7 separate regions of the Homo sapiens genome follow, and all the other regions are linked to region 4. Evidence: promoter capture Hi-C in 16 types of primary human blood cells and fetal thymus (Javierre and others, 2016). All regions are on one chromosome and are shown on one strand. The core of a region is centred on a gene start or on the middle of the fragment in contact, and the rest is flanking DNA. Distances in the headings are between cores, read along the strand shown. Region 1 overlaps GPAT3 (glycerol-3-phosphate acyltransferase 3). Region 2 has its middle 21 kb from the start of ABRAXAS1. Region 3 has its middle 10 kb from the start of GPAT3. Region 4 holds the start of NKX6-1 (NK6 homeobox 1). Region 5 overlaps GPAT3 (glycerol-3-phosphate acyltransferase 3). Region 6 has its middle 75 kb from the start of GPAT3. Region 7 overlaps GPAT3 (glycerol-3-phosphate acyltransferase 3).

Evidence for each region. The method cuts DNA at HindIII sites, captures the fragments that hold promoters and counts their contacts. A CHiCAGO score of 5 or more calls a contact.
Region 1: a fragment that was not itself captured here is called in contact with the fragment with the promoter of NKX6-1 in region 4 in 1 of 17 cell types (monocytes); the score reaches 7.7 in monocytes.
Region 2: a fragment that was not itself captured here is called in contact with the fragment with the promoter of NKX6-1 in region 4 in 7 of 17 cell types (M1 macrophages, monocytes, M0 macrophages and 4 more); the score reaches 8.9 in M1 macrophages.
Region 3: a fragment that was not itself captured here is called in contact with the fragment with the promoter of NKX6-1 in region 4 in 1 of 17 cell types (monocytes); the score reaches 9.4 in monocytes.
Region 5: a contact is called between a fragment that was not itself captured here and the fragment with the promoter of NKX6-1 in region 4, in 1 of 17 cell types (monocytes). The highest score is 5.1, in monocytes.
Region 6: a fragment that was not itself captured here is called in contact with the fragment with the promoter of NKX6-1 in region 4 in 1 of 17 cell types (monocytes); the score reaches 5.2 in monocytes.
Region 7: a contact is called between a fragment that was not itself captured here and the fragment with the promoter of NKX6-1 in region 4, in 1 of 17 cell types (activated CD4 T cells). The highest score is 5.2, in activated CD4 T cells.

What each region holds. Positions count from the first base shown.
Region 1 is chr4:83,566,501-83,570,073 of GRCh38, reverse strand. The region is part of intron 2 of GPAT3 (glycerol-3-phosphate acyltransferase 3); the gene reads right to left. Among named protein-coding and RNA genes, the nearest start is that of GPAT3, 32 kb to the right of the region's middle. The HindIII fragment of the contact is 1,265 bases long and covers 894-2,158 here.
Region 2 is chr4:83,504,570-83,507,958 of GRCh38, reverse strand. No RefSeq gene overlaps it. Among named protein-coding and RNA genes, the nearest start is that of ABRAXAS1, 21 kb to the right of the region's middle. The HindIII fragment of the contact is 4,036 bases long and covers 1-3,334 here.
Region 3 is chr4:83,524,220-83,527,512 of GRCh38, reverse strand. No RefSeq gene overlaps it. Among named protein-coding and RNA genes, the nearest start is that of GPAT3, 10 kb to the left of the region's middle. The HindIII fragment of the contact is 1,739 bases long and covers 1,079-2,817 here.
Region 4 is chr4:84,497,406-84,500,830 of GRCh38, reverse strand. It overlaps NKX6-1 (NK6 homeobox 1), which reads left to right and starts at 1,539. Exons shown (of 3, transcript NM_006168.3): 1 at 1,539-3,272. The coding sequence starts at 2,603. The HindIII fragment of the contact is 5,978 bases long and covers 462-3,425 here.
Region 5 is chr4:83,542,386-83,546,146 of GRCh38, reverse strand. It overlaps GPAT3 (glycerol-3-phosphate acyltransferase 3), which reads right to left. Exons shown (of 12, transcript NM_032717.5): 2 at 1,545-1,611. Among named protein-coding and RNA genes, the nearest start is that of GPAT3, 8.2 kb to the right of the region's middle. The HindIII fragment of the contact is 1,505 bases long and covers 645-2,149 here.
Region 6 is chr4:83,609,575-83,613,392 of GRCh38, reverse strand. No RefSeq gene overlaps it. Among named protein-coding and RNA genes, the nearest start is that of GPAT3, 75 kb to the right of the region's middle. The HindIII fragment of the contact is 5,435 bases long and covers 1-3,818 here.
Region 7 is chr4:83,586,265-83,590,102 of GRCh38, reverse strand. It overlaps GPAT3 (glycerol-3-phosphate acyltransferase 3), which reads right to left. Exons shown (of 12, transcript NM_032717.5): 4 at 2,774-2,848; 5 at 1,804-1,893. Among named protein-coding and RNA genes, the nearest start is that of GPAT3, 52 kb to the right of the region's middle. The HindIII fragment of the contact is 690 bases long and covers 1,487-2,176 here.

The DNA.
Region 1 (3,573 bases), core at 277-2,776, 930 kb after region 4:
ATATTTCTCGTCAATACAACACCACCCCCAGTTCTTCCTTGCTAAACAGAAAGCCCTGAGTAGCAGCTCTTCCTAGCATTTCTCCTACCTTTGAGGGAAGAAAGATAACTTTAATTGATACAAGAAAATCTATATATGGCCCCTATCTAACATTAATCTAGACATGCACTTACAATTCACTTACACGTGATCATTCTTCCCAGAAAGTTGTGACACAATTCACCCTTTTTTTTTTAACTGAGGCAGGAATCTTTTACAGCTTGGAACCCACTTAAATTCCTCTCATTTAGAATCTCTGGGCCATCCTACAATAAGCCAAACAAACAAACAAACAAAACCATGCCCTGGGCAGTGGTGCACCAAGTGGTCCCCAGTGCTGTAGTTCAGCCAGGTCCACGTTGTCCAAGGAGACCGTTCTGCCCTCTGCTAAGACTCTGTAACATCAGTGCACAGGCATCCTGCCAGTATCCTTACTCTTCAAGGCCTCTACACGGCAGAAGCAGCTTCCCTACACATCTCACAGATGACATAGTCAAGGTTTAGAAAGGATAATCCCCCTTGATTTGTTGTTGGTGTTATTGTTCTTAGATATATTCTCACACCTTCTACCATTTTTACATCTTTATTAACCTGGACCGTCAGCCAGGCAAGGTTTATAGAAAATGGTCTCTCTTTTTTGGTCCAAAGAGCCAAGCAGCCCTGCTATATTCTTCTCAGTCATCACTCCAGGTTTCAGTTCAAGGTCTTTGAGCAAAAGACAGATTGACCATGAAGCCAGTAAGGTTAAACTTCAGGGTCCAAACTTGCATAGGCTCCTTCCAAGGTCCTGTACTTACTTTTGCATGGATCACTTTGTATTCCTTATTAAAGAAGGCCTCTAAATTGCATAAGCTTTAAGCCCCCACAAGACCTGGACTTGCCCCTACCTCTGAATAACATTATCATTTTGTTGATACAAACAACAGATCTATGTTAAACCATTCACCTTACAAATGAAGCTGATTTAGGAGAAATACTTAAGATGAGAGAACCAACTGATTACCAGTAAGCATTAGAACACTGGGAGGTCACAGACACACATAACATCTTTCCACTTAATTTCACATATTATGAATAGTATTTTATCTATTTAATGGTTACATTAGCAATGTACTAGTAAGAGAGGTTGCTCCTTGTTAGGCAGTTTTGTGGTTATTTTAAGGTTTTAAGTTTCTCAGTTATTGGAAGTGGGGGAATTGAAGAGGATGACAAATGAAAAATGTGAATACAGGCCGGGCGTGGTGGCTCATACCTGTAATCCCAGCACTTTGGAGGCTGAGGTGGGTGGATCACCTGTCAGGAGATCGAGCCTATCCTGGTTAACATGGTGAAACCCCGTCTCTAGTAAAAATACAAAAAGTTGGCCGGGTGTGGTGGCGGGTGCCTGTAGTCCCAGCTACCCCGGACGCTGAAGCAGAAGAATGGCGTGAATCTGGGAGGCGGAGCTTGCAATGAGCCTAGATCGCGCCACAGCACTCCAGCCTGGGCAACAGAGCGAGACTCCGTCTCAAAAAAAAAAAAAAAGTGAATACAAATGAAAAGTTAAAAAACACTACATAAAAGTTTCACAGGTTTCCTGGTAGCAATAACCCTGCCTTAGAAGAAATAGATTATGATATACCATACAATAGGTCCATAAAATGAAAAGGGGAAGAAGTCATCACAACTATGATGACCTTTAATATACATGAAATGTGCTCAAAATAAATGCATCTCCTTTGGTTTTCCTAAGCGCTACTCAATCATGATGACTCAATCACAATTGCCTATTTTAAAAAAAAGCATTCGAGTTATGAAACTACTCACGCTCCCCCTAGTAACATGGCCTGGGTTGGCACATTTAAAGATACAAGTTACAATCAATTTTTTTTTAATGTGAAACAGGGTAAAGTTTACTTTAAGCACCTGCACACCCCACTACTTAATCCAATTAAGAAAAATAAAATAAGGGCAGGAGAGAAAGCCCACATATAATACAAAATAAAAATGTGCAAAGAAAAAAACAGAAAATCATAAAAATCATAAGAAAGAATTCTACACAAAGTCTTCTGCAAATAACTTTAATGAAAATCTGGGTAAACAGATAATTTTCTATTTAAAAAAAAAGTTGCTCAAAGCTTTACTGACACCAAGAGATGAACATGCTAAAGAGAACCATTTGCACAGATGAAATAATGTTGCAGGCAGCAAAAAAATACCTACATATGCACCCCTAACCAACCAATAAGCACCAGACCCAGGCTTTTTTTGTTGTTGTTGTTTTCAAATAGAGACAGGATTTTGCCATGTTGCCCAGGCTGGTCTTGAACTCCCGAGCTCAATGATCCACCCGCCTCAGCCTCCCAAAGTGCTAGGATTACAGGCATAAGCCACCACTCCTGGCCCAGACCTTTTTTTAAGGAATTCTACCAAACATTTAAACTGACAAGGGAAGGAGAAATAAAGGAAGATAGGTAAGTAATACACTAATCACAAGTATAAGAATCAACTGTAAAAATCCTAACTTCAATTTTGGCAGACAACTTCCAGCATCATATTATGACCAGGTAATGTTTATTCCATAAATGCAAAGACAATTCAAATATTTTTAAAGTTATTAATAAAATTCACTACAATGGGTCTAAGAGGGGTAATCTATCTTCACCATCAGACATGCCTTAAAAGCATGAAAATTCAACATTCACTCTTAATTTAAAGTAACAAAACAAGAATCAGCAACTATTTAACATGAGATGGAAAAATAGATCAAAGTTGACATGATCTTTATTGGGAAGACCCTAAAGGCACTGAAGACCATCCACATAGAAATGCCAACTTGCCAACTAGCACCACTACTGTTTAGCACTGCAGGGAGTATCAGCCAGCACAACCAGACAAGAGAAAAAAAATGAAGTACAAACTAGGAAAGAAATAAAATGCAAACCAAAGTTGAATAAGAAATGGCAAGCCTATCAATATCTGAAGATAAAATAATTATATATCTGAACAAAAGGAAATTCCTGAAAAACCATATACAGTATGAGAATTCTTAATTTTATATTCTTCTACCTTACTAAAGTAGAAAATTTTCCTATACATGAACAACAATTATTTAGAAAATATAATGGAAGAACACACCTTATTTATAATAGCAACTAAAATATAAAACTAAGAGGAAATGTGCAATACCTATCTGAGGAAAATTTTAGAACATCTCTTAAGGATACAAAAGAAAACCTAACAAATGGGGAAAAAAAAAAAAGAAAAGCTAAACAAATGGGGGAAAAAAAAAGAAAATCTAAACAAATGGAAAGATATAATGTCCTCAGAAAGTAAGACCCAACATAGATAATGTCAAACCTTCCTCAATAAATTTACAAACTTAATACAACTCCAATAAAAATGGGTTGTTGTATTTCCTTGTATCATAGAAAGCTGAATCTCAAGATCATATGGAAAAATAAGTAAACAAGAATAAATAGGAGGCCGGGCGTAGTGGCTCACACCTGTAATCCCAGCACTTTGGGAGGCTGAGACGGGTGGATCACTTAAGGT
Region 2 (3,389 bases), core at 67-2,566, 990 kb after region 4:
CCTTTCAAAACTTCACAATACTCTCCACTTCCACGTTCCCCATCGTATCCAACACATCAACCCAGACCCCTCTGGGGCTTCTAACTTTCTTCTACTCCTCCAACCTCCCACCTTAAAACATGCAACCTTTTCTTATCCCCCATCCGTAGTTAACCCCGCTTTTTGGGATACTTCCACACCCTCAGTCGCAGAACACCATAGCCCCGTCCACATTACCCTTAAACAGCCCACCCATTTCCTATCACAGAAGCAGTATCCCATCCCCCAAGCAGCTCTCATATGCCTAAAGCCTATCATTTCTCACCTCCTCACCAGTCATCTATTCTGCCCAACAAACTCCCCTTGTAACACACCAATTCTACCTGTTAAAGAGCCAGATGGAACTTAATCACTTAGTCCAGGACCTCAGGCTCATTAACCAAGCTGTACTCCCAGTATGTCCAGTAGTTCCTAACCCATGTACTTCACTTTCCGCAGTTCCCTCCAATACCACCCATTTTTCTGTCCTAAACTTAAAGGATGCTTTTTCACAATTCCTTTACACCCTGATTCCCAAAACCTCTTTGCCTTTACGTGGGAAAACCCTGACACCCACATTTCACGTCCACTCACCTGGTGCGTACTACCTCAAGGTTTCAGAGACAGCGCCCACCTTTTCAGACAGGCCCTTGCTTGTGACCTCTGTACCTTATCCCTAAAACTGTCCACTCTCCTTCAATGTGTTAATGATCTGCTCCTGTGTAGCCCCTCCCAAAGAGACTGCAACGCCCATAGTATCTCTCTCTTTTAAACTTCTTGGCAGAACAGGGGTATCAGGTCTCCCCTAAGAAAGCACAAATATGCACCCCCTCATTCACTATCTAGGCCTAGCCCTTACCCCGCTAACCTGAGGGCTCACAACCGACCACGTATCCCTCCTCCAGTCCCTCCCGCCTCCACAAACTAAGCAAGACATTCTCTCTTTTCTAGGACTAGCAGGATATTTTAGACTCTGGGTTCCCTCCTTTGCTCTACTTGCCAAACCGTTATGCCAAGCCACTAAAGGCCCTCTCCATGGGCCTTCAAACCCTGCACAGCCTATTACCCAACCTTTCCATCTACTCCAAAAGGCTCTCATCTCAGCCCCTCTCCTCACTCTCCCAGACCTCACCAAACCTTTCTCCCTCTATAGCGATGAACGGCGTGGAGTTGCATTAGGCGTTCTAACCCAGTCTAAGGGACCCACTCTCCAGGTTGTTGCCTACCTCTCTAAACAGCTTAAAGCCACAGTTCCCGGATGGCCTGCCTGTCTCTGAGCATTGGTGGCAGCTGCTCTCCTTTTAGGCCTTGAAAGCCTAAAACTTTCTGTCCATGCCAACCTAACAGTTTATTCAACCGATAACATCAAAGACATGCTGGCTCACCGCAGTGTACTAAGTCTCTTCTCTGCCCCACAGCTCCTCCAACTGTATGCTCTATTCATTGAAACTCCCCACATCACCATGCTAACCAGCTCCCATCTAAACCCAGCCATGCTCTGTCCCTATCCTTGTTCTCTCCTCTTTACTCCTCAGAAGAAAAGGAGGACTTCCGGGCCCAAAACCTTCAAAAGCAAGGACCATGGTATGTCAAGAAACGGAGCTTTATTCTTCCTCACTCTCAAAGCCTTCCTCACCTCCAAAGCCTCCACAACTCTTTCCATGTTGGTTACAAACCTCTCCTGCAACTTCTCCGCCCTATTCTCACTTGTCCTCACCTTTCCAGCCGTGTTTGAGAAATTACCCAGTCCTGCTCTATCTGCCACTCAGTGTCACCCCAGGGCTCCCTCCTGCCTCGGACTTTTCCTACCCACCAAGCCCAGGGCCAGGTACCTGGGCAAGATTGGCAAGTAGACTTCACTCACATGCCACCCGATAAACAGCTCTGCTATCTTCTAGTCTTTGTCTGTACTTTCTCCGGGTGGGTAGAAGCATTCCCAACAACTTCACAAACTTCAGAAAGTGCAAATATTGTCACACAAACTCTCATCATGCATATAATTCCCGGTTTCGGACTCCCAATAGCCATCCAGTCCGATAACGGACCTGCCTTCACCAGCCAAATTACCCAAGGCGTCTCTACATCCTTAGGTATAAAATGGGTCCTCCACACACCCTACAGGCCTCAATCTTCAGGCAAAGTTTAAAAAGTTATCTCTGTCCTTAAAGCCCAACTCACCAAGCTGGCTCTAGACACCCACCAGTCGTGAACAAAAAAATCTCCCTTTTGCCCTCATGAGACTCTGCACAACACCAAAGACATCCTCTTTTTATAGTCCCTTTGAAATCATGTATGGCCAAACTTTTGTTTTGGGGCCTCCACCCTTACCAGACTCTGAGCCACTCAAGAATTACCTCCCTTCCTTAATCCAGACATGGTCTTTCATTTGTGAAGCAGCAAATGAGGCCATGCCTCTCCCTGTCAACACCGCCTTGTCCTCTCAACATAACTGTCTTGCAGGCACAGATGTGTTTCCAGACAATCCAAACAATGCTCCTGCTAGAACGACGTGGTGGCTACCAACCCATCTCTCAAGAATACCCAAAAAATTAAGGTTTTCTTTTTCCAAGGTGTCCACGCCACCCCCTATGTCATGCCTGAAGTAGTTATTGAGAAAGTCATTCCTTTTCCCTTTGCTATAACCAAATAGACAAGAATGTAAGATTCTCCCCAGGGCCTGAAAGCCTAAGGGGATGAGTGACTCCTGCCTGCTCAGGCCCAGTCCCAAGGCGCAAGGCCACCTGCATCAGCAGCGTGTGTCAGCAAGACAGCAGAAGCAGGAAGAGAGCCAGCCGGAAGTCACGTACGCCTGAAGCTCAAGAAAGAGGCCATCCAGGTACGACGTAGCAGTTACGTCAGACTAGGACACTTCCTGTTTATAAAATCTTTGCCTCATCTTCACTTGGGGCTGACACCATTTTAGGCCTCAGCCCGCCTGCACCCAAGTGCTCATTAAAACAGCATGTTGCTCCAAAAAAAAAAAAAAGATTGAAACTGGCCCAATAGTCTCATAGACTATTCTTTTTGATTAACACAGAAATTGACCCTTCTGGTCTCAGCTTGAAGGTTATATTTATTTTATCAGAGTTCCTTCCTCAGGAAAGGTCCTTCAGGCCTCTCAAAATATAAGTATCAAAGAACTGAAAGTCACCAGATCACGGCACCAGGTGACTGCTTCCTTGCCCCTCCCCAGTTCTTGTTTTCTTACACATTGTTACACTTCGTCCCTGATATATAAACCTGGCATTTTAGTAGTCAGGGAGATGGACTTGAGACTGAGCTCACATCTCCTTGGCTGCAGCATCTGACTAAAGCTTTCTTCCTTGGTGATACTCGTCGTTTCAGTGATTGGCTTTCTATGCAGCAAGCAG
Region 3 (3,293 bases), core at 699-3,198, 970 kb after region 4:
TTTCTTTCACTGTCATAATTTTTCTATGTCAGATTTTTTTTTACTGTCATAATTTTTGCAAAAGGCAGTTTCAGAAGGAAAACTAACATGGTGAGAGGTCGTCTAAAATGGTCACCATGATGGCGAATTTCTAGGGAACTTTTCAAGGATAATATTGATTGATACATCCAACTTTTTCTTAGGCTTTTCTTAGGCTTAAAGCCTAATCCTTGGATCTACTGTTAAAAACTTTAGACAAATTAAACAGAGTTTAATTGAGCAAAGAATGATTCATGAGTCAGACAGCCCACCTTCCAAAACCAGAAATAGATTCAGAGCAACCCTGGCACTACTGTCTGGTCAGCGAAGATTTATAGACAGAAAAAAGAGTGACACACAGAAAATGCAAGTGAGGTACAGAAAGAGCTGGATTGGTTACAGCTCAGTGTTTGTCTTGCTTAAATAGCTGGCCACCTGTGAATGATTGAAGTATGGCTGCTGTCTTGAGAGTTGGCTTCTTGCTCTTGCTACAAGAGTAGGTTATAGTCTGTTTACACATCCATTTACACATCCAGTTTGCTATGTACAGATAAACCTTTAGGCCAAACTTAAAATATGTAAGGAGGTAGCTTTAGGCTAAACTTTATCTATTTGTTTGTTTATTTATTTAAAGAGAAACTCGCTCTGTTGCCCAGGCTTGAGTGCAGTTGCGCCGTCTCAGCTCACTGCAAGCTCCACCTCGAGGGTTCAAACGACTCTCCTGCCTCAGCCTCCCAAGTAGCTGGGATTACAGGCATACGCCACTACATCTGGTTAATTTTTGTATTTTTAGTAGAGACTGGGTTTCACCATGTTGGCCAGGCTGGTCTTGAACTCCTGACCTCAGGTGATCTGCCTGCCTTGCCCTCCCAAAGTGCTGGGACTTAATCTAGTCTTATTGGAACCACTGTCATAGTATCTGATACCTGAACCTACTATATCAAGTCTTCAAAGTAGTAGTGAGAGCTAGAGGTGAGAATTTTCATCCCAGGGCAAACGATGTTGTCATTACACACTTGCTGAATTGAATGGAGGGTCTCACAGGGGCAAGTATGAAGCTTGAAGGAGTGGGTACACAGGTGAAGAGAAACCTCTGAAGAGAAAGCCCAGGCTCTCCTCTTCCCAACTCATTTATATACTGGTTATATGTAAATCAGCAGTCACAAGCCAGAGAACCACAGGCCAGATGCCCTTTACAAAGGTCTCATAAAATGTTCTCTAAAAACTTTGAGTTGGCTGGGCAGTGTTTCCCACCTGCAATCCCAGCACTTTGAGAGGCTGAGGTGGGAAGATTGCTTGAGCCCAGGAGTTTGGACCAGCCTGGGCAACACAGTGAGACCCCATCTCTACAAAAACTAAATTTTAAAAATTAGCCAGGCCAAGTGTTATACACTTGTAGTCCCCACTACTCAGGAGGCTGGGGTGAGAGGATTGCTTGAGCCTGGGAGATAGAGGGTGCAGTTGAAAAATTGCCATTGCAAAATTATGACAGTAAGAGAAATCTGACATAGTTGACTCCATCTTGCTTCTAACCTCCAAGCTATCCTTGCTTATTCTTGGGTGCACACCAAGCTAACTTTGGGAGAAATTTGTAGTTTAAATGATAGTAACCCTTCCCAAAACTAAACTGCCTTTCTAAAACTAAAGAAAGTCCAGCAGGTTAGAAGGATGACAGGGGCCCGAATTCTGCTAAAATGTGGGCTTAAACAATTACCAGCCATTATTCTGGAGGTCACAAGACTCGCAACTTCTCCAATTCACTATTTCAGAACCTAAGATTGGCCTTTTGGGACATCTCTTTAGACTTTTGCATTTCTGAGAACTAGATGGCTCCACCCAGACCCTCAACTCTTAGTTCAACTGGTCCTGTAGCCCCTACCCAGAAGCAGACTCAGTGTGCAAGGACCATTGTCCACAGCCCTATGATTGCTTCTCCAACCAATCAGCAGCACCCATTCCCTTAGCCCACTGTGCACCAAACTATCCCTGAAAGACCCTAGCCTCTGAATTGTCAGGGAGATTGATTTGAGTAATAACTCCATCTCCCTATGTGGTGTGGCCAGCCTTATGTCAATTAAACTCTTTCCTTACTACAATGTCATGGTCACAGTGAATTGATTTTGTCTGTGCAGCCCACAGGAAGAACCTGTTAGGTGATTACACAGTAAGCCATGATCATGTCACCACACACCAGCCTGGGCAACAGAGCAACACCCTGTTTCAATAAATAAATGGCCAGGCTCAGTGATTCATGCCTATAATCCCAGCACTTTGGGAAGCCAAGGCAGGTGGATCACTTGAGGTCAGGAGTTCGAGACCAGACTGACCAACATGGTGAAACCCCATCTCTACTAAAAATACAAAAATTAGCCAGGCGTGGTGGTGGGTGCCTGTAATGCCAGCTACTTGGTAGGCTGAGGCAGGATAATCACTTGAACCCGGAAGGCAGAGGCTGCAGTGAGCTGAGATCACACCACTGCACTCCAGCTTGGGCGACAGAGGGAGACTTCGTCTCAAAAAAGTAAATAAATACATTTTAAAAATTTGAATTGATTGCCCACATATTAAAATATTGACACTAAAATTAAAATGCCTATATTATTCTAAAATCAGGTGTTAGAGAGGGAAAAAAATTACTTCCCTCCACCCTTCTCGGTTCTCGTATATCTCTTTTGGCTGGGCTATAAATTAAATTGACATAAAGCAGATTAACAGGAGAAAAAACATACTGAATTACATATATATGTACAAGAGTCCCACAAAATATGGAACTTGAAAAGGGGCTGGGTGATTGAAGCTTTCAAAGCACTCTGAGCTACTGAAGGGAATACGGGCTTGGAGCTTTTGGGGTGTGGTAAAGACAAGTTATGAGAGGGTGAGGGGAGGAAATGCATGGTAGATAAAAGCTGTCTTGTTTTGGGGGGTTTTGTTTGTTTGTTTGTTTTTGTTTTTGAGATGGAGTCTCGCTCTGTCGCCCAGGCTGGAGTTCAGTGGCACGATCTCAGCTCACTGCAACCTCTGCCTTCTGGGTTCAAGCAATTCTCCCACCTCAGCCTCCCAAGTAACTGGGACTATAGGCGTGCACCACCACACCTGGCTAATTTTTGTATTTTTAGTAGAGACAGGGTTTCACTGCGTTGGCCAGGCTAGTCTTGAACTCCTGACATCAGGTGATCTGGCTGCCTCAGCCTCCCAAAATGCTGGGATTACAAGCATGAGCAAACACACCCGGCCGAAAGCTATCTTGTTATGCAGATGAAGTCTCTCAGGTAATA
Region 4 (3,425 bases), core at 290-2,789:
TATCGAAGCGGAGTACGCCCTCCTGGCTTTTCGTGCTTGGACCCAAATGAGCGCTTTGACACCAATAGCTAAACTCCATCCGTCGGTGGTGCTGATCAAATTTTATTCTTGAGCCATTTATTGCGTTTATTTCTGTTTTCTGCTCATTAAAATTGTAATTAATGATCTCATCCAAATTTGCTGTAGCGACCACCTTCCAATGGTGTGTTACTTTAACATGCTGAATTCTCAAAATTGTCAAAGGGTTTTCCTTCTCCAGCCCGCAGTTCAACCCTGTCGGGAACGTAAAGATCAGCCAGAGATGGAAGAGATTTAGAGAGTAAAGGAAGCCACCCTTCAACTCCTAAACTCTAGATAGACATCCCACCACCACTGTCCAGGAGCTGGTACATCTCCATCTCCCGTAGCAACTCTAGAATTGGGAGTAGGCGCCAGAGTTTTGGAGAGGGTTTTCAAAAGCTTACAGTTCCCAGGGTGTACCTAGATGCTTCTGTATCTAAAGTTTCCGCCTGAATTTTGATGATTCTACCCCCATGTAAACCCAAAGGAAATAACAACAATAATCAAAGGGAGAAAAGTTAAGGGAAAAAACTCCCTCACTGTTCTCAGGTATAAACATCATCTGACAGATAAATATTCCTATTAAACGGATTCAGTTTTCAGCGAATTGAGTAACCCATAAATGATAATGAACGCGGTGGGAAGCGACGGGCGGGGGGGAACTCGGGAATGAAAAAAAAAATAAAGTGGAGGAGAAAGAACAGAAAAGGAAAGCAGGAGGTGGAAAGATGGAAGAGGACGATCCTTTGGCCTACAAGGGGATTAAGGACATCTATAAGGCTTAAGGAGCAACAAATTAATTTACACAATTCTGGGAGAGCCCAGATGGCCTTTAATTAATCCCTTCAAAAGAAGGAGCCAGGCCAGGGCTGCGCCGGCTGCCTGCTCCATTAGCTCCATTTTACAAGGGACCAGACTTGGTTCGAGGTGAGGCGCCCTCCAGAGCTGGTGGGGGAAGGGGATAGGATGACGCGAGCGGGCTAGTGGGGAAGCAAGGGAAGAATATGAACTGCTTTTCCATAAAAGGGCTGAGTTTTCATTATTCCTCTCTTTAAAAAGTAATACCCTCTTCGTCTCTGCTTCCCCCTCCCCTTTCTCATTTTATTTAGCACAATTAATTGAGGCGGCCACTGGCCCCAGCGCGGAACCGCACCACTCACCAGCTCCCGCCCCTCCTGGCCCCGCCCACAGGAGAAAGAAGTAGGGAGCGGGAGGGGACTAGGCGGGCGCGGCCCTACGCCTGGCCCGCCTCAGCCAATCAGAGGGTGCGGCGCCCCCGAGTGGGCGAGCCCCAGGGGCGACGCAAGGATCGAGGCGGCGAGCTATTGGACACGGTGGTTACGCCCCCGGCCTGCGCCCGGCTCGCCGGCCCCCGCAGCCTCGGAGTGACGTCCCTCAAAGTTCTCATTTTGGTCCCCCACTTCCCCCTCCCTTTCGTCCCCCAGCTAAAGAGGGGTAGGGAGTGATGCAAATGTTTTATTACCTTTGAGAGCTTCATCTGAACTGTCAGGCCCGGAGGGAGAGAGGAAAGGAGAGAAAGAGCGGAGGAGCCGCGGAGAGGGTCAGTTTGGCCAGAGGACAGGACTTAGAAGACCGAAGCCTGGGAAGCCGCGAAGAAAATGCCAGAGAGGAGAGTCAAAGGCTGAGAGTGAGAGGGAGAGAGGGAGCGGGGGTGGGGCGGGGGTCGCCGGGCCCGTTTGCAGAAGTGGACTGACGAGCGGCGCCGAAACCCAGCCGTCAGACTTTTCACACTTAGTCTTTTGTTTTTCTGTGTTTTTCCTCCCCCTTTTTCTTTTCAATATTGCAACTCCAGTGCCCCGTGGGCCAGAGGGCAAGGCGGGTGGAGGTGAGGACCTGGGAGCCGCGGGGATCCGTGGCACTGCCCTTTCTGGCGCAGCAGCCCGGGGCAGCGTGGGCGGAGGAAGCCCGCACAGAGGCTAGATCTCCCGCGGGCTGGATGCGCTTTCTCCCCGGGCACAGTGAGCGTCGAATGCGAATCAGCCGCGCGACCGAAAGAGCAGAGCATCCCAGTAAGATCAGAGGAGCGCCACGGGCTGCACAAGGCGTCCTTTGAACCTCCCCAAAGAAAGCAAGCCACCCCCACCCTCCAACTTCAAAGTGGAGATTCGGCAACTAACTTTGCTACAAACTCTCCGGAGCCAGCCTGGGTTTTGTTTTGCTTATTTCCCGGGGGCAGAAGATGAGAAGTAGCGCACTTTGAACAGCTAGGAAAAGTGAGGAAGAGAGAATAGCCAGGGATCGAATCTAGGACTCGCGGAACGAAAGGACTGCCTAGCCCGCCGGGACGCCTGCTTTTCTCGGCGAGCTGCCGCCTCCCGCGTGGAGGGTTTGGACATCTCTGCTGCGCAGCTAGGCGAGCAACTCCCGGCAGCGGCATTTTTGGTTCAGTTGGCAGCTCGCCTCCGGGCGCGCCGAGTGCCTCTCCGCTCGCGCCCTCGGCGCTTCCGGCTCCTCTGAGCCCCGCGGGGGGCACCAGCCAGCGCCCTCGCTGCAAGGCTACGGTCTCCGGCGTGGCCGTGGGATGTTAGCGGTGGGGGCAATGGAGGGCACCCGGCAGAGCGCATTCCTGCTCAGCAGCCCTCCCCTGGCCGCCCTGCACAGCATGGCCGAGATGAAGACCCCGCTGTACCCTGCCGCGTATCCCCCGCTGCCTGCCGGCCCCCCCTCCTCCTCGTCCTCGTCGTCGTCCTCCTCGTCGCCCTCCCCGCCTCTGGGCACCCACAACCCAGGCGGCCTGAAGCCCCCGGCCACGGGGGGGCTCTCATCCCTCGGCAGCCCCCCGCAGCAGCTCTCGGCCGCCACCCCACACGGCATCAACGATATCCTGAGCCGGCCCTCCATGCCCGTGGCCTCGGGGGCCGCCCTGCCCTCCGCCTCGCCCTCCGGTTCCTCCTCCTCCTCTTCCTCGTCCGCCTCTGCCTCCTCCGCCTCTGCCGCCGCCGCGGCTGCTGCCGCGGCCGCAGCCGCCGCCTCATCCCCGGCGGGGCTGCTGGCCGGACTGCCACGCTTTAGCAGCCTGAGCCCGCCGCCGCCGCCGCCCGGGCTCTACTTCAGCCCCAGCGCCGCGGCCGTGGCCGCCGTGGGCCGGTACCCCAAGCCGCTGGCTGAGCTGCCTGGCCGGACGCCCATCTTCTGGCCCGGAGTGATGCAGAGCCCGCCCTGGAGGGACGCACGCCTGGCCTGTACCCCTCGTGAGTACTACCACCCGCGCCCCGATGCCTGCCTGCCGTGCCTGTTCTGCCCACTCCCGGGTCGCGGCCCCTGGTGTGCATGCCGCTCAGTCCATCCTGTGGCCCGCCCCAGTAGTTTGACAGCGCCGGAATCACACCAGTTAGGTTGGGCCA
Region 5 (3,761 bases), core at 148-2,647, 950 kb after region 4:
CAGGCATGGTGGCGCACGCCTGTAGTCCCAGCTACTCAGGAGGCTGAGACAGGAAAATCACTTGAACCTGGGAGGCAGAGGTTACAGTGAGCCGACATCTCGCCACCGCACTCCAGCCTGGGGGACAGAGGGAGACTTTGTCTCAAAAGCAGAAAATTTAATTAATTTAATTTAATTTAAATAAGAAAATTAAATTAAATTAAAATTCATGGCCCAAAACATGTACCACAATCACCCCAATCTATTAAGGCCCACTGATTTTCTCTCAAGATCAACAGCTCAGAGTCTCACCAAGCACAACAGAAAACCAGCAACAAAGTTTGTTCTTTCCTTAAATCATAAGGACATACATTTTTTAATGAACCAGAATAATTTTTTTAAATGATAGAGCTGCTATATTTCAGAGAAGGTATCTGGCAATTAAAAAAAGGATAAAATATAGCCAGAAATATCCGGACTTGGTAAAAATGTGATTGGTGATAATATTTGGGTGTTTAAGTATACACCATGAAGCTCTACTAGTTGCTTCAATCATTTGAAAATCATAATCCAATTATACAAAAATACTCCAATGTTTTCAAATATTTTGTTATTTCCAAAACTCACTATAGAATACAATTTCTACAATTCCTTTTAGAAAAGCTTCCAGAAGATAAATTCCTTCCAGTAAAGTATTTGATAGTTTGACTTTTTTTTTTTTTTAAATGAGGTCTCACTGTATTGCCCAGGCCAGAGTGCAGTGGCATGATCACAGCTCACTACAGCCTCAACTTCCAGGGTTCAAGTGATCCTCCCACCTCAGGACCCCACTCTGAGTAGCTGGGACTACAGGTGCGCACCACCACACTCAGCTAATTTTTGTATTTTTTGTAGAGACAGGGTTTCGCCATGTTGCCCAGGCTGGTCTTGAACTCCTGAGCCCAAGCGATCTGCCGGCCTCAGCCTCCCACAGTGCTGGGATTATAGGCGTGAGCCACTGCACCTGGTCAAGCATGTTTCTTTATTGCAGGACTTTTCTGAGCCTTTATTAGTAGGCACTAATACTCTCCAAAGGCAAGTATAGTATGTGATGATTCCTAAACTTATTTCACGAGAAAATTATTTTTTATTTCATGTATTACCAATTAGCCTTCAGCAGAAAAGAGTACTTTGAGGAACATACTTTGAGAATCACAAGTTGGTTAACGAAACCTCAATAATAGGTTTTAACTCCCAGGAACTCCCATTAGCCTTTTTCTTTCTTTTTTTTTTTCTTTTGGCCATCGACTACATCTTTAAAACCACGGACAGCCATCTTCAAATACATGCCCTTAGAAAGGAAAACAATACCTATAAGAACATATAGATGAGCTAACACATATTACCACCTTTACAATAAAAAGTCCATGAAAACTCTGGCAGCTGCAATTTTACACTGACAGAATTATGAAAGATCCAAACCCTATAGAACACACTGCTCTCTGCATATTTCAAGTTCAAATTGGGTAGGTTTACATCCACCCAATTTAAATATGGTAACAATCATAATGAAAAGGAAAACTCACCAACAGAAGCAGAGTTTTTAAGAATCGACTCCTTTGGGGTTCCTTTTTCAATTCGTATTGTGGCCCACTGTTCAAAAACAAGAAATATTAATTTAAACTGTCCCACAGACACAACATAAAACACTTCAACCATGATTATACAGAAGTGAAATTACACATCAAGCTCTGGCAGTGTCTGAACTAAAGAGCTAACCCCAGGGAATCTCTGATATAGCAATATTCCAAGTCCCAAGTATACTTTTATATCACTTACTGATAATACCCTAATAAAATGTGGAAAGGACAATATTTACCCTTTCTCAACTGCCTCACATGCATTGGTGACCTGATAAATTACTCCTTGAAAAGGCTGTGAAGCATGGGGGGCATGAGTACAGGTCACGGCATCAAGAATGTCTGGGTTTGAAATTACTTATTCCCTATAGGCCTCCGTTTCCTCATTGTAAAACAAGGATAATAGATCCTATCCCATAGGGTTGCTGTCACATTAAACAAGATGACACATGTAAGGGCCTAAACGTAGGGCGTAAAGTGTAACAATTATTTTCACAACAAATTAGACATTCAGGGGTAGGACACGCTCAAAGATGCATCAGAAATAAGCTTGCAGAAAGAGGCAGCACAGACTTGGAAAGCTGGAAAGGACTCGATGAAATCATTAACTAAGGCACGATTGGCTCATGCCTGTAATCCCAGCACTTTGGGAGGCCGAGGAGGGTGGATCACTTGAGGTCAGGAGTTCAAGACTAGCCTGGCCAACATGGCGAAACCCCATCTCTACTAAAAATACAAAAATTAGCCAGGCATGGTGACGCATGCCTGTAATCCTAGCTACTCTGGAGGCTGAAACAGAATTGCTTGAACCAGGGAGGAAGAAGGTGCAGTGAGCAGAGATCGGGCACCTGCACTCCAGTCTAGGCAACAGAGTGAGACTCTCTCAAAAAAACAAAAAAACAAAAAAAAAGAATGAAAAAGAAATCATGAACTACGGAAAATGATCTGTCCACATGGTTACTTATGAAGATGCATAGGAAAATGTTACAATTATGAAGATCTACAGATTTGAGGGAATTTAAGAACTGGAAAACAACTCTCACTTTGTTTTGAATATACCTAGGAGTATAAAGAAACGTACCCAGATGTGATTTTTTTATTTTTTTCTTTATACATTTTTTACACATTTCCCAAATTATTCACTATTAACATCATAGTTCAAAAACTGCTAGTGAACTTTTCAAGTCTCTCATTCTAGAGAATCCCAAGGGCTTTTATACTAAAAAGTACTGTAATAATTATTATTGAACATAAGCACCCTTGAAGGGGCAGAGACAAAATTTTTTTTTTTTGAGACAGGGGCTTGCTGCTGCCTTGACCTCCCAGGCTGAAGCAATCCTCCCACCTCAGCCTCCTGACTAGCTGGGACCACAGGCCCGCATCATCATTCCCAGCTAATTTTTGTATTTTTTGTAAAAACCGGGTTTCACCTTGTCGACCAGACTGTACTCAAACTCCTGAGCTCAGCAATCTACTGGCTTCAGCCTCCCAAAGTGCTGGGATTACAGGCGTGAGCTAACATTTTATATTTTATTTTATTTTACTTTTTGAGAAGGAGTTTTCGCTCTTGTTACCCAGGCTGGAGTCCAATGGCATGATCTCGGCTCACTGCAATCTCCACCTCCAGGGTTCAAGCGATTCTCCTGCCTCAGCCTCCCAAGTAGCTGGGACAACAGGCACCCACCACCAGGCCCAGCCAATTTTTGTATTTTTAGTAGAGATGGGGTTTCACTATGTTGTCCAGTGTGGTCTCGAACTGCTGACCTCAGGTGAGCCATCTGCCTCGGCCTCCCAAAGTGCTGGGATTATAGGTGTGACCCACTGCACCCAGCCCAGAGACAGATTTATTAATATGCCAAGTCAAAAACCTCAGTTATTGCTAAGCTCAAAAGAGTCTGTTGACTAGAGAGGTTAAAATTTTTTTCAAATAAATAAGAACATAACTGATAGAGAATAAATAACCTAAAACGTACATCAAGGTCAGGGAGTAACGCATGATATCTGACTACGTCAGGACCCCTTCAAAACAACCCACAGAGCCAAACAAGAACATGCCATTTGCACTTAGAGAACAGCCTATAAATAGAGGCCAATCTCCCAACTTCCAGTGACAAGTGACTAAATCATAAGACTCGGTCTTAATCTGATTGCATCCTGTTATCT
Region 6 (3,818 bases), core at 969-3,468, 890 kb after region 4:
AACAACAAGAGAAAAATATCAAGTCACATACAAGGGAATTTCCATTAGACTAATAGCATAGTTATTGGCAGAAACCTTACAGGGCAAAGAGAATGAGGCAACATAGTTAAAGTGCATTAAGAAAAAAAAAAAACTGCCAGCCAAGAATACTATACCCAGGAAAGCTATCCTTGAAAAATGAAGTCCACAAACCCTTTCCCAGAAAAGCAAAAACTGAGAGAATTCATCAACACTAGGCTTGCCTTAAAGTAAATGCTTAAGGGAGTTCTACATCTGGCAGCAAAAGAACAATAACTAGCATCATGAAAACACATGAAAGAACATGAAAGCATAAAACTCACTGATACACCAGACATACAAAGGAGAAAGAGAAATAAATCAAATCTTATCACCACATAAAACCACTAAACTTCAAAGATAAATGATAAGAGAGAAAGAAAAGAACAGGGGCTATACAAAGCAATTAGAAAATGATTGACAAGATGACAGGAATAAAGTCCTCACCTGTCAATAATAATCTTGAACTTAAACAGATTAAATCCCCTAATCAAAAGATATACACTGGCTGAATGGATTTTTTTAAATGACCCAACCATATACTGTCTACAAGAAACTCACTTCACCTGTAAAATACACATAAATCAAAAGTGAAGGGATAGAAAAAGATATTCTACACAGAAACCAAAAGTGGGCAGGAATAGCTATAGTTATATCTGATAAAATAGGCATTAGGTAAAAAAACTATTTTAAAAAAAGGGACAAAGGGCCAGCCATGGTGGCTCATGCCTGTAATCCCAGCACTTTGGGAGGCTGAGGCAGGTGGATCATGAGGTCAGGAGATCAAGACCATCCTGGTCAACATGGTGAAACCCCGTCTCTACTAAAAATACAAAAATTAACTGGGCATGGTGGCGCGTGCCTGTAATCCCAGCTACTCAGGAAGCTGAGGCAGGAGAATCGCTTGAATCTGGGAGTCAAAGGTTGCAATCAGCCAAGCGCACCGCTGCACACCAGCCTGGCAACAGAGCGAGACTCCGTCTAAAAAAAAAAAAAGAAGGTTATTATTTACTGATAAATGGATAAATTTTGCAACAGGATATAACAATTATAAATGTATATGTACCCAACCCTAGAGTACCCAGATATATAAAGCAAATATTATTAGATCTAAAAGGAGAGATAGGCTCCAATAAAATAGTAGTTGGGGACTTCAAGACCCCACTCTCAGCGTTGAAGAGATCATCTAGGCAGAAAATCAACAAAGAAACATCCAATTTAAACATACTACAACCAAAAGACTTAACAGACATTAAGAACATTTCATTCAACAGCTGTAAAATACATATTCTTCTCATCAGCACATGGAACATTCTCTATGACTGACCATGCATTAGGCCACAAAAAAAGTCTCAACAGATTTTTAAAAACCAAAATCTCATCTAGTATCTGTTCTGACCGCAATGGAATAAAACTAAAAATCAACAACAAGAGGAACTTTAGAAGCTGTACAAATACATGGAAATGAAACAACATGCACCTGAATGACCAATGAGTGAATGATGAAATTAAGGAGAAAATTTAAAAATTTATTTAAACAAATAAAAGTGGAAACACAACACCCAAAACCTATAGGATACAGCAAAAGCAGTATTAAGAGGGAAGTTTACATCAGTAAACACATACATCAAAAAAAGTAGAAAGATTTCAAATAAATAACAATGCACCCCAAGGAACTAGAAAAGCAAGAACAAACCAAACCCAAAATTAGTAGAAGAAAATAATAATATCAGAGCAAATATAAATGAAATTAAGACCAAAAAAATGCAAAAAAAAAAGATGAAACAAAAAGCTGCTTTTTTGAAACAATAAACAAAATTTGAAAAGGAATAGCTAGACTAAGAAAAAAGAGAAAAAACCCAAATATATAAAATCAGAAGTGAAAAAAAAGACATTACAACTGATAGCACAGAAATACAAAGGATCATTAGAAACTATTATGAACAACTCTACTTCCTAATTTCTGTTAGAAAAACCTAACAGAAATGGATAAATTTCTGGACACATACCACCTACCAAGACTGAACCAAGAAGAAATGAAAAACCTGAACAGAATAATTACAAGTAACCAGACTGAACCAGTAATAAAACATCTCCCAATAAAGAAAAGACCAGGCACAAATGACTTCACTCCTGAATCCTACAAAATTATTTAAAAAGAACTAATTTCACTGCTTCTCAAACTATTCCAAAAAGTTAAAATGGAGAGAATTCTTCCAAAATCATTGTATGAGGCCAGCATTGCTCTGATAATACAACCGGACAAAGTCACAATAAAAAATAGAAAAGTATAGGCCAAAATATCTGATTAACAAAGATCCAAAAATCCTCAACAAATACTAGCAAACCAAATTCAACAGCACATAAAAAATATACACCATGATCAAGTTGGATTTATCCCAGGAATGCAAAGATGGCTCAATATATGCAAATTCATAAATGTGATACATCACATCAACAGAATGAAAAACAAAAACCATATGATTCTTGAACAAAAAGAACAAAGCTGTAGGCATCACACTACCTGACTTCAAAATATGCTACAAAACTATATTAACCAAAACAGCTTGATATTGGCATAAAAAGAAAAATAGACCAATGAAACAGAATAGACAATGCAGAAATAAATCCATGTATTTAAAGCCAACTGATTTTTTACAAAGGTGCCAAAAACATTCAATGAGAAAAAGGACAGTATCTTCAATAAATGGTACTGGAAAAACTAGATATCCATGTGCAGAAAAATGAGACTAGATCCTTAGTATAAAAATCAATTCAACACAGATTAAAGACTTAAATGAAAAACCCAAAACAATGAAACTACTAGAAGAAAATAGAGGGAATGTTTCAGGACATTGGTCTTCTTTAAAAACCCAAAACTATGAAACTACTAGAAGAAAATAGGAGAAATGCTTCAGGACATTGTTCTGAGCAAAAAATTTATGAATTAGACCTTAAAAGCACAGGAAACAAAAGCAAAAATAAACAAATGGAATCATATATAACTAAAATGCTTCTGCACAGCACAGAAAACAATAAATGGATTAAAGAGACAACCTGCAGAATGGGAAAAGATTTTTGCAGACTAATCATCTGACAAGGGAATTTTTTTTTTTTTTTTTGAGCAGGGTGTCACTGTCACCCAGGCTAGAGTGCAGTGATCATAGCTCACTGCAGCTTCAAACTTCTGAGCTCAAGTGATCCTTCTGCTTCAGCCTTACAAATAGTTAGAACTACAGATATGCACCACCATACCCAGCTGATATAAAAAAAAAATTGTAGAGACGGGGTCTCACTGTGTTGCCCAGGCTGATCTCAAATTCCTGGCCTCAAGCTATTCTCTCACCTCCACCTCTCAAAATGCTGGGATTACAGGTGTCAGCCACTGCACCTAGCCACTGACAAGAGATTAATATCCAGAACATACAACAAACTAAAAAAACTCAATAGCAAAATAATAATAATAATAATCTGATTTTAAAGTGGGCAAATGATCTGAATAGACATCTCAAAAGAAGACATGCAAATGATCAAGTTTACAAAAAATGTTCAACATCATTAATCTTCAAGGAAATGCAAATCAAACCCACAATGAGATAGCATCTCACCCCAGTTAGAATGGCTATTATCAAAAAGACAAAAAATAGCAAATGCTGGCAAAGGTCCAGAGAAAGGGGGACTCATACACTGTTGGTGAAGATGTAAATTAGGACAGCTATTATAGGAAACAGTATGGATGTTCCTCAAAAACTAAAAATAGA
Region 7 (3,838 bases), core at 582-3,081, 910 kb after region 4:
TGTAATTTTTTTTTTCGCGTCTCACTCTGTTGCCCAGGCTGGAGTGCATTGGTGCAATCTTGGCTCATGGCAACCTCCACCTCCAGGGGTTCAAGCAATTCTCCTGCCTCAGCCTCCCAAGTAGCTGGAATTACAGGTATGTGCCATCAGGCCCAGCTAATTTTTATATTTTTAGCAGAGATGAGGTTTCTCCATGTTGGCCAGGCTGGTCTCAAACTCCTGACCTCAAGTGATCTGCCCCACTCGGCTTCCCAAAGTGCTGGGATCACAGGCATAAGCCACCGTGCCTGGTCTTTTTTAAGTATATTTTTAAAAATTAAGTTTGGAGGTACACGGGCCCATCTTTAAAAGGTGATCTCTAGGTAGTGTGATGAGAGTGTGGTAGGGGGCCCATGATTTTTCCATTGATAATACACAGCTTTCACTTATTTAATCTGAAGTATTTTCACATTATTCTGATCTTCATATACATCACTTTTAGTGGTTTCATGGTAATCCACGGAGAAAATTCACCATAATTTCCTCCCTCCTATCCTCCTAGAGCAGAGGTTGGCAAACTTTTCTTATCAAGGGCCAGACAGCAAATACTTTAAGCTTTGCAAGCCAGACAATGCTTGTCACAATTACTTGACTCTGCTGTTGTGACACAAAAGCAGCCACGGCTGTGAATGAGCACGGCTGTGTTCCAATAAAATGTTATTTACAGAAAACAGCTGGTGGGCCAGATTTGGCCTATAGGCTCCCAGTTCAGTTTGTTGATCTCTACCCTAGAGTGAAACCAGTATTTGACACCAATAAAGCAAAGTAGTTTTCTTTGGGCCTATACAGAGAAGAAAGAACCAAATACACAATTATTTAGCATATTTTCTTCAAAATGAGAAGCAATTCTATAAGAAGTTAGGAACTCCTCTTTATGTAATAAGTGTGCCTTTTCTACAGGTGTTTCTTCTGACTGCACACCTGCCAGAGTGTTTTCTTTCACTCTTCACTTTAAAACTCATAGTCCAATTGCAACATCATATAATTTAAAATGTTTAAAGGGTCTTTTATGTTGGTACCACATGGTAAAGCCAAATGGCAAAATGTTTCCCTTCTACAAATGAGAAAGAAAGACCAAATCAGTAAAAAAGAGAAGCTTGGCCTAGAACTTTTAAAATGATGTTAAATCTAAAAAAAATTAAGATAATAGAAAAGTAGTTCAAATGCAATCAAAATCACTTTCACTTAGCTAATTCCTTTCCTTTGCTGCCTTCATTCTCTACAATTCTGGGAGAGAAAAGCAGAATTTTGTTTTAAGGCTCAATTATGGAATTTTAGAAGTAGCAGGACTAAGAATAGAGACCACATTTCCAGACTCCACGTCTAGTCCTATTTCCACCACAGTACAGACCTGTCAACTTCATTGTTTTTAAAATCAGAGAGACATGGCTCAAAACCTGATTCCATTGTTTATTCACTGTGACCCTAAACAACAAATCCCAAAGCTTACATTTCTTCCCCTATAAAATGGGTTAACAGTGCCTATCTCATAGGGATGAGCTACAAGAAACACAGGGTCTGGCCTGCACACCATAAATGCCCAATTATTGAGCACAACTACGTGTTTATTATTATATTCTTTCTGCAAACACTGCTATTTAGTGTTTTTGTGCATCATGCCTGTGCCACACTGAGAAGTAGAGATGAACACATTGGAAGCACTCTGACTCCACCCACTTCTTCCCAACCACTTCCAATGCTTCCTTGTCAATCTCATGCTGAATTGACCTAGAAAAAGACAGGCACATTGGAGCAGATACTCACTTGTTATGATAATGAATGGTACCAGAGAGGGCTCGCACACAGATCCGGCAGCAAGTCAGATGGACCAGTTCACTCAGCCAGTTTTTGAGGCTGAAGGAAATAGAAACATTTTATTGTGCCATTCTGGGCACTCTTAAGAAACAATATAATAAAGGTTTTAATGTGCTTTTTCACAACAGCATACCACATTCTATTCTGGTGAACAGGTACAGTTCAATTCTTATAGTCTTATAGTCAATTGTTATAGTCTCATTGGCACATTTAGTATTAGATCACAAAAGTCTACCAAAAAAACTGGACATAACTCTAATGAAAAGTGGCTCAAAACCACTAGGCTATTATGACAAATTCCTGAACGAGATAAAGTGAAGCTTCTTTGGTCTTGGTCTTATGAGCTTGCCAATATATAAGACTCTCTTAGGTAACTCAGTTCATTTTCTTTCTTCAATTCTCCTTTGAAAAAACAACTTCTTTCAATTAATATGGAAGTATGATTTAAAAAAATCAAAGACTATGAAGATGAAGTGAGCAGGATTCTAATAAATGAGTAGAGAACATAAATTTAATGCAATGCAGCCTGGTGTGGTAGCTCACACCTGTAATCCCAGCACTTTGGGAGGCCAAGGAAAGCAAATCACAAGGTCAGGAGTTCGAGACCCCCCTGGCCTACATGGTGAAACCCCGTCTCTACTAAAAATACAAAGAATTAGCTGGGCATGGTGGTGGGTGACTGTAATCCCAGCTACTCAGGAGGCTGAGGCAGGAGAATCTCTTGAACCCAGGAGGCGGAGGTTGCAGTGAGCCAAGATCACACCATTGCACTCCAGCCCAGGTGACAGTACGAGACTCCGTCTCAAAAATAATAATAATAATAATGCAATACATAGGAATCAAACAAATATTCTCTTTGTGGACACAGCTAAGAAAAAAGACAGTCCTATATATGGCTGGATGGAAGGAAACATTTCACCTGCTGTCTGGCAGCTGCCCAACCAGTGTAGTTCCTATAACCAGCAAACTGATCCCAATGAAAGCCAAGGTAACCCTGAAAAAGAAAAGAGAGGGCCATATAAGATTTTGACACATAGCATGGAAGTAACCAAAAAGTTCCTAAATAATAAAATTGTAAATAAGTTGTAGAGTATCCACATGATGAAATATGATGCAGCCACTAAAATAACTGGGTAAATCTATATAGATCTAACACGGAAGAATGTTCCACGACACACTTTAAGAGGCAAAAAGCAAAGTAAGTTTCAGAATAAAGTACAGAATATGATGCCATCTGCAAAACAACAACAAACACATGTGTAACAAGTCTGTATATGCATAGAGAAGGCCTGGAAATTTTCACAAAACTATCAAGTTAAATCTATATAATCACCAAAGGGTTAAGAGGGCTAGTGAAGGGAATAGATTTAAAGGTGCTTTCATAATAAGAACACCAAAATATACCACCATGTAGACATCTTTTAATGCAAATCTAACTGTTGTCCTTTTGCATGGTTCAAGATAACTCAGAAGTTAGCAAACAAGGTGACTGACAGTACCTCTAACCTCCATATAGACATTGCCTTCTTTTTGAAAAGTGCTTTTAATATACATTCCAATGACTTCAAAAGGAAAGTAGTAATTTCTAGAAATGTAAATAGAATTATTCAAAAAGGAAAGTTAAGACAAAATCTTTCAAAATAAATAGGATTTAGTTAATAGAGAAGAAAAATCAATAGTTTAATCACATTTTACTAATAAGATTCTTTAAATCATCTTACTTTGTCAAATGGAGAAAGCAGAAACTTTAGATTATCTCATTACTCTCTCAAATCAAACCAGAGGCCTATTTATGTCTTCCTGTTCCCAGAAGAGCACACACGTGTTGCTGAATGCGTGAGGTATTCAATAAGCAGACTGAAGGGGACCACCCCTGCAGTATCAGAAGGACCCTGTGTGTCTGGGGAAGCTACAGTGGTTGCCTAAGGTTAAGGGTCAGGAACAGTAACCCTCTCCAGGGTGAAGCTCATTTACTGCTGACACG